Linked DNA regions of Homo sapiens: regions 2 and 3 are each linked to region 1. Evidence: promoter capture Hi-C in human tissues and cell types (Jung and others, 2019). All regions are on one chromosome and are shown on one strand. The core of a region is centred on a gene start or on the middle of the fragment in contact, and the rest is flanking DNA. Distances in the headings are between cores, read along the strand shown.

The links. The method cuts DNA at HindIII sites, captures the fragments that hold promoters and counts their contacts. A contact is called where the count stands out against the background at its distance.
Region 2: a contact is called between a fragment that was not itself captured here and the fragment with the promoter of SPRED2 in region 1, in 3 of the 25 tissues and cell types used here (IMR-90 fibroblasts, adrenal gland and lymphoblastoid cells).
Region 3: a contact is called between a fragment that was not itself captured here and the fragment with the promoter of SPRED2 in region 1, in 1 of the 25 tissues and cell types used here (mesenchymal stem cells).

Annotation. Positions count from the first base shown.
Region 1 is chr2:65,431,224-65,434,019 of GRCh38, forward strand. It overlaps SPRED2 (sprouty related EVH1 domain containing 2), which reads right to left and starts at 1,376. Exons shown (of 6, transcript NM_181784.3): 1 at 739-1,376. The coding sequence starts at 764. RefSeq lists silencers at 1-228, 259-308, 1,079-1,278. The HindIII fragment of the contact is 4,754 bases long and covers 1-2,796 here.
Region 2 is chr2:65,302,713-65,305,571 of GRCh38, forward strand. No RefSeq gene overlaps it. Among named protein-coding and RNA genes, the nearest start is that of ACTR2, 76 kb to the left of the region's middle. The HindIII fragment of the contact is 6,401 bases long and covers 1-2,859 here.
Region 3 is chr2:65,238,972-65,241,679 of GRCh38, forward strand. ACTR2 (actin related protein 2) reads left to right here. Exons shown (of 9, transcript NM_005722.4): 2 at 881-991. Among named protein-coding and RNA genes, the nearest start is that of ACTR2, 12 kb to the left of the region's middle. The HindIII fragment of the contact is 3,672 bases long and covers 1-2,708 here.

The sequences.
Region 1 (2,796 bases), core at 126-2,625:
CACACACGCGCGCCCCCAGCGCGATGCCCCGCACGCCCCCGCCGCACACGCCTCGGTCCGCCCCGAGCCGCCCGACCCCGCAGGACGCGTGTGCCGGCCACAAGCGCGTGCACAGGCACTCACGCGCCGCGGGGCCCCTCGGGCGGCTCCAGCACGCCGGCCCGCGCGGGGACCCTGGCGCACCAGACCCCCGCGCAGCCCGCGCCTGTCCTCCTCTCGCTCCGCCGTGTTTTTTATGAATGAAAATGTGGTATGCAAATGAGAGCGATTCAAGAAAACGAAATGGCGGAGCCTAGGCCCCAGTGGGCTCCGGAGCGGACTGCAGGGCTCGCGGGGCGGCGGGAGTCACAAAGTCACTGTGCAAAAACCCACCAGCCCCGGGAAGCCGGAGTGGGGGTGTCAGGTCTTCCGCTCTAGCCGCCGAGGATTTCGGGGGCGGGGGAGCTGTAAGTCCTCCGAGAGGGAGCGGAGACCGCCGGGAGGTCACCCGCACGCCCTTGGCCCCCGGAGCTGCCACCAGCCCGCCGACCCTAGGCGTGCGCCCGCCAGCCCGCAGCAGTTTTTGCCCTCTCCTCACTTCAACAAGCAGGGAAGCCTCGCGTCCCAACGCCGAAAGGTCAGCGAGTCGCTGCACCCCACGCCAAGTTCACCCAATAAGCGTCCCCGCCCGCATCCTCAGCCCCGGCCCCCACGCTGCCCCTGAGGGGCACCCTCGTCCCACCCCGCGACCAAACTTACTCGTCTGGGTGTGTTTCTTCGGTCATTTTCTTGTTCACCTAGACGCCTGTCCCGCGGCGGGCAGCTTTGCTCCCTTCATCTTCCTGTCCGCTCGCCCCCCTTCTTCACATCTCCGGAGATCGCCTGATTTGGGGAGGGGGGGCGGCTAGAGATGAAGAGGGCGCCGCAGCAGAAGGGGAAGCAGGGCGCGGGATAGGGTTTGGGGGAAGGGGTGCAAAGGCAGGCTGCGCGGGGAGTGAACGCCGCAGCGCCGTGGGGAGAGGCGGGCGGAGGCTCCGGGGGCTCGGGAGCGGGCAGAGGGGGCGAGATTTGGGAAGGGGACGGCGGTGGGGGAGAGCAGGAGAAAAACAAGCGCGCCTCGGAGCGGCAGGGACTGCTGCGAGGAGGAGGAGAGCGCCGGCCGCGGGTGGGGGGGCTCAGTCCGGGGTCGCCCCCGGGGGGCCGGGCCAATCACGGTTCCGGGGAGCGGTCGGCGGCCGGGGGAGGTGCGCCTGGGAGGCGGTGCAGGGCGCCCCGTCCGAGCCCCATCTCTCGACTCCACCGATTTACTCCATATTGGATTCTCACCGCCGCCAACAGGAGGAGGAAGTAGGGCGGAAGCGATGACGTCTTCCCAGCGGCCAGAGGTGGTGGAGTGCAAAAAGCTTCCTACTTGCGACCGAAAAAAAGGGAGAAGAAAAAAAAAAAAACTTTGTCCCGCCTACTGAGCACGCCCCGCTTCCTCTCCCCCTCCCTCCTGGCTTCCACTCCCGGGGGAGCCGCGGAGCCGAGTTGTTTGCTTGCGCCGCGACCGTCTGGCTCCGAATCCTCCTTGATTAGGGCTCCGGGTTTTAGGAAGCCCGAGAGGAGGGAGGAGGCGGGAGCGGAGGACTCGTACACATCTGGCTCCCGTTTTTGCCCCCTCCCTCCTTCCAAACACCAAGATTAAAAATCGGGGGGTTGGGCGGGGGCAGAGATGGGAAACTCAAGGGAGGGGAGGGAGTAAAACAGCTGAAGAGGTGCTCAGGCTCAGAGGCACAACTACCCCCACCGCGGGGTGGGAAGGTAGGGGCGGCGCAGGTGCCAGGGGCTGGCTTCTCCAGCCCAACCCAACCAGAGAGGGGAGGGGGTTCGACTTTGCCAAGGTTCTGAAAGGCAGAGGCTTTTCCGTTTCACGTGAATCTTGTGATTTTTTTTCTTTTTTGTCTCAATAGAGGAATGGATTTTTGTTTTGTTTTGTTTTGAGATGGAGTCTCGCTCTGTCCTCAGGCTGGAGTGCAGTGGCGCGATCTAGGCTCACTGCAACCTCCACCTCCTGGGTTCAAGTGATTCTCCTGCCTCAGCCTCCCGAGTAGCTGCGACTACAGGCGCGCGCCACCACGCCCAGCTAATTTTTGTATTTTTAGTAGGGAGGGGGTTTCATCATGTTGGCCAGGATGGTCTCGATTTCTTGACCTCGTGATCCGCCTGCCTCGGCATCCCAAAGTGCTGGGATTATAGGCATGGGCCACCGCACCCGGCCAAGGAACGGATGTTTTTAAGAATCATTACTCATGCAAAGAAAAAGGTCAACCCAGCACAGCCCAGAAACGTTTGCATTTCCGTAGAAATTATGGAATTTCTCGCGTTAAGAAGCAGCCCCGGCCGGGCGCGGTGGCACACGCCTGTAATCCCAGCACTTTGGAAGGCCGAGGCGGGCAGATCACCTGAGGTCGGGAGTTCGAGACCAGCCTGACCAACATGGTGAAACATCGTCTGTACTAAAAATACAGAATTAGCCGGGCGTGGTGGCGCGTGCCTGTAATCCCAGCTACTCGGGAGCTGAGGCAGGAGAATCGCTTGACCCCAGGAGGTGAAGGTGGCGGTGAGCCAAGATTGTGCCACTGCACCCCAGCCTGGGCAACAAGAGCAAAACTCCATCTCAAAAAAAAAAAAAAAGAAGAAGAAAGAAAGAAAGAAAAAGAAACAAGAGACATAGTCCCTATCCCTTGCTGCTCTCCAAACACAGTAGACTTTTCCATCCTCTTGAATGTCCATGGGACAATCCAGATACGATGTTAACTAAATAGCAACCACTGA
Region 2 (2,859 bases), core at 260-2,759, 130 kb before region 1:
GAATGACAAAACAGTCTAAGACGAGATACAAAGGGAGCTGTCTAAAATAAGAAGGCAATACAAAGTAACCAAAAATAGAAGACCAGAGTCAAAGCTGCAGTTGAAGGGAATGAGAGCAGAATTGACTACAAAACAGCCTGTTAACCAAGAGAGGAAGAGGCCACACACTTTGTTCTCAGGATCTCTGTACACTCTTAAAAATTACTAAGGAGGCCGGGCACAGTGGCTCACGCCTATAATCCCAGTACTTTGGGAGGCCAAGGTGGGAGAGTTGCTTGAGCCCAGGAGTTTGAGGTTAGTGTGCTACGATTGCACCACTACACTCCAGTTGGGGAGACAGAGGGAGACCTTGCTTCAAAAAAAGAGAAAGAAATAACTACATTTGCCAAATAAAAAATATTTTAGAGAACAGAAATACTGGCTTATATTTTGAAAACCTTTAATTAATAGAAGACAGCTGGATTCTCATATCTGCTTCTGAGTTCAATCTGTTGTAATGTGTTGTTTTGATTGAAGTATATGAAGAAAACCTGACCTTAGACAGATATGTTGTTGGAAAAGGGAAGAGAGTTTAATAGTCTTTTGAGAGATCCTTGTAGGTAGTCTTCTTTGATACTCTGCCAAAACTCATAGGTAATAATTTCTTAAAGGTTAGTCGTGGGAGGTTGGGTGCAGTGGCTCATGCCTGTAATCCCAGCACTTTGGGAGGCCGAGGCAAGCAGATAACCTAGGGTCGGAAGTTCAAGACCAGCCTGGCCAACATGGCAAAACCCCTTGTCTACTAAAAATACAAAAATTAGCTGGGTGTGGTGGCAGGTGCCTGTAATCCCAGCTACTCGGGAGTCTGAGGCATGAGAATAGCTTGAATCCAGAAGGTGGAAGCTGCAGTGAGCTGAGATCGCACCACTGCACTCCAGCCTGGGTGACAAGAGCGAAACTCCGTCTCCAGGAAAAAGAAAGGTTAGTTGTGGAATCTAAAACCACATCACTTGGTTACATCAAAATTCATTATGGGGGCTGGGCGCAGTGGCTCACGCCTATAATCCCAGCACTTTGGGAGGCCAAGGCAGGAGGATCACTTCAGGTCAGGAGTTCGAGACCAGCCTGGGCAACATGGGGGAAACTCTGTTTCTACTAAAAACACAAAGATTAGCCAGGCATGGTGGTGTGTGCCTATAGTCCCAGCTACTTGGGATGCTCAGGCACGAGAGTCGCTTGAACCCGGGAGTCAGAGGCTGCAGTGACCCAAGATCACACCACTGCATTCCACAGCCTGGGCGGCAGAGTGACACTATCTCAAAAAAACAAAACAAAGCAAAACAAAACAAAACAAACAAAAAATACTAAAACAAAAACCCAACGTTCATTATGGGCCTTTCACTCTGAATGGATCTTTTACCCATGCGTGATTTTTTAACAGCAATACATTGGTCATTTGGAAGATATTGACTCTATTGCAGATCTGAAAGTTGACACATATCATTTTCATTATACAATATATATTTTAAAATCACATATCCTTTGCTCTTGTCTCCTAGGCTGGAGTGCAATGGCACGATCTTGGCTCACTGTAACCTCCGCTTCCTGGGTTCAAGCGATTCTCCTGCCTCAGCCTCCCGAGTAGCTGGGATTACAGGCACCCGCCACCACACCTGACTAACTTTTGTACTTTTAGTAGAGACGGGGTTTTGCCATGTTGGCCAGGCTGGTCTCGAACTCCTGACTTCGTGATCCGCCCACCTTGGCCTCCCAAAGTGCTGGGATTATAGGTGTGAGGCACTGTGCCTGGCCAAAATTGCATTTCTTAATATCACCACCAATTTCATGGAAAAAAAAAAAAGTCTATTGGGAAATTGTCAAGCCAACAGTAGCAGATACATATTTCACAAAATTCCAATTTTTGCTTGAAAGCTCAGATTTTGTCACTGACAACAAAACTGTCTGTTGTCTCTTTGAAGTAATAGGCTCATTTTGCTCATTTTTTTTGAGAAAGTGTATGCCAAATACCCCTTCCTGAATAACCATACAACATAACCATAATGACAGTCTGTCACTCTTTCAAGTAAAAGTGGTGTCCCATGACAAAAGCAGCTACTTCAGCTTGCAACTCAAAACAGTTGCACAAAAGCTTTACTTCAAGACAACAATACTTAACTGTGCAACAGAAGTGCTTTACATATATATTCCATTTTGTCACACAAAATATTAAGAAGATGTGAACTCAAGGGTCAATATGTATTAAAAGTAATCATATTTATTGCTTCATCAAGTACATTCTTTTTTTTTTTTTGAGACAGAGTTTTGCTCTTGTTGCCCAGGCTGGAGTGCAGTGGCGCAATCTCAGCTCACTGCAACCTCCACCTCCCAGGTTCAAGCAATTCTCCTGCCTCAGCCTCCGGAGTAGCTGGGATTACAGGTGTGCACCACCATGCCCAGCTAATTTTGTATTTTTAGTAGAGATGGGGTTTCTCCACGTTGGTCAGGCTGGTCTCGAACTCCCAACCTCAGGCGATTCGCCCGCCTCGGCCTCCCAAAGTGTGGGGATTACAGGTGTGAGCCACTGCCCCAGGCCTGCTTCATCGAGTACATTCTTAAGTGAAACTGGCATTTTTTTCTAAGAACATGCAATGATTAGACTAGCACAATTTGGTAGTCCGCTTTGACTAGCGCTAAGTTTTACCCTTCATTGTTTCTGCACCATCAATGTAAATGTCAACACAGTGGAAAAATCAAACACCGTCTTATTAAGATGATTTTAACCTCAGGGATTCTCAGGTGTCTCTCTGCAGACCACTCTTTGAAAAAGAGTACTATAGCAAAAAAAAAAAAAAAAAAAAAAAAGAAAAAAAAAGGAAAAAA
Region 3 (2,708 bases), core at 140-2,639, 190 kb before region 1:
GAAATAAATAGCCAAAAATGCCTAATAAATGTTTCTTTTCATAATACGGTGATATTAGTTTAAATGACACTTGGTTTTCCCATTTTGGAAAATGACATTCTCTAAGCGATTTGCCCAAAATGAATGAAAGTCTGCTTTAGAATTGAAGCTTTAGTTCTGTTCATTTTCTCACATTTCTCTTTCTAAAAATACTTAGCATTTTGCCGGGCATGGTGGCTCACGCCTGTAATCCCAGCACTTTGGGACGCTGAGGCAGGCGGATCACCTGAGGTCGGGAGTTTGAGACCAGCCTGACCAACATGGAGAAACCCCGTCTCTACTAAAAATACAAAATTAGCTGGGCTTAGTGGCGCATGCCTGTAATCCCAGCTACTTGGGAGGCTGAGGCAGGAGAATCACTTGAACCCAGGAGGCGGAGGTTGCAGTGAGCCGAGATTGTGCCATTGCACTTCTGCCTGGGCAAAAAGAGTGAAACTCCGTCTCAAAACAAAAACAAAAAAAACCTTAGCATTTGTTCAGCGAATTTGTCCATCCCACAGATACTTCTGGAGTGAGCACTGTGTGCCAGGAGCTCTGTTAGGTATTGGATTCCAGCACGAACTGCTCAGCTTAGCTCCCTGCTCTTATGAGGCTTTTGGTCTAGTGAGGGAACTTAGGCACTAATTTAGCAGTAAATAAACATGAACCCTGGAAGTAGGCAATGCCGTGAAAGAAGTTAAAAGGAGATGTTGCGATAGATTGAGTGGCTACTTCGGGTGGACTGAAAGCACCAAAAGTTTAAAATGTTATATAAATGCAAAGTGATATTTTTCAGATGCTGTCTTAAAATATAGTAAATATCCTGATGCTAACCCACTTTTATTTTACTGTTTCATTCCAGTTTGTGAAGTGTGGATATGCAGGCTCTAACTTTCCAGAACACATCTTCCCAGCTTTGGTTGGAAGACCTATTATCAGATCAACCACCAAAGTGGGAAACATTGAAATCAAGGTAATATTTTATTTATTGATAAATGATAATCAAGACATGTGAGGTGTTCTTATAAAAGTAGTTTAACAGTTCTTTTAAGTAGTTTTAAAATATGTTGCCATGAAAAGCAAAGGGGAGGGTAGAAGTTCTCATATTTTTAATTTATATCAACACCTGAACAGGGGCACAAAAATTGAAGTTAATTTCATCTGATTTTGTTTATGTATGGCTTGATGCCATTACTCTTTGGAGTAAAATACTTAAGTTTATTACATTAATGTGAAACGCTGTGTTAGTGACTTAAGTCCTATTACATAATATAATTTTTAAAAGAAATCGGCCTGGTATTTTTATGTCTTTCAATTCCATATATTTGTCATTGTATGTGAGTGTCTCTTTGGCACCTTAGACTTTTTCTTTTCATGTTTTTATGGCCTGATCCCTCTACTTTTTTATATAGCCATTTAGGAAAACACAGGGTGTAAATCTCATTGATTCCTCTTTTCATTAATATAACTTATTTCCATAATGTGCAGAAGGAAGCCATTCAAGCCTTTATTTGGCCTTGGATTATGTATCTTACCATAAAGAGGAAGGAAAGTTTTCATTGCCTACTCGCTGTATTTAAGATGAAAGACTACATGAAAAGACGATCGATTTTTCTCCCATATTAAAGGGATCAGAAATCAAGTAGGAGTTACAATATTTGACAAGAAAGAGAACAGTGAGAGGACAGTAGTCACCAGTTGGCTTTAAGTTCTTCAGGTGACTGAAGGATCAAGTTATACAGAATGCCATAGAATTTAGGGTCTTTTTTAGTGAATTATTTGTGAACACGCTAGCATTGTTTGTCCTATCTGGATAGTCTTTAGCAAGCCTTCAGTGTAAGGTTATGAGTCATTTGAAATATGCATTAGGGCGTATCTCTTTGGGACATTTGTTTTATGTAGGAAGGTGGTAATGGGTGGTAGAGATTTGCTATGTAGCCTTCTGCTTTTGGGATAGAGAGTTGAGTTACACAATGAATAAAAATACAAGCTGAAACTTGGGTTCTGTGTTAGTTTTTTTTTTTCAGAGTTAAAGTAGCGAATTTTTCTGGCCTCTCCTGTTAACAAAAAAAATAAAATGGGACACTCAGTGTAAGTTTTTCCTTTTTAAGGAGCTTTTGGAATATTTGTGGGATTCCTTACTTGCTTATTGTGAACTCCTTTCATTCTGAATGAATTCTATCTTAAATGAACTTTGACTGGAAATTAGCTAATAATAGTGATAAGGATAAACTGTTTAATGAAGTTGAAGGCTATACTTTTTATTCAGTGTCAGGTTTTTAAAGAATGGCTTTTTTATATACTGGACAATAAAATTTTTGAGGTATGAAGAAATATCATGTATAGCCATAAATTTATTTTGCAACATAGGCACAAATAACTACACATCTCTTCATGCCCACTTTCTTCGTGTTTAAGGCCAAGTGATAGAAATCAAATTTGTCAGTATGCTAATAAAACATTTTTGCCAAGGAATTCCCTAGCAGCATTTGCTTGTATGGTTTGTCATTCTGTATTCTATTGGCTCAATTCTGTTCACTCTGTGCAATCTTGTAAGCCTATCAAGTTAAATTATTCTTCGAGTAGAAAACAGCAAAAGATACCTGTGTCAAATAAATTTAACTTGAACACTAGAGCTTGGAAAAACAACCCTGAGCTATCTAACACTCTGCCTACTCAGCTAGACCTTT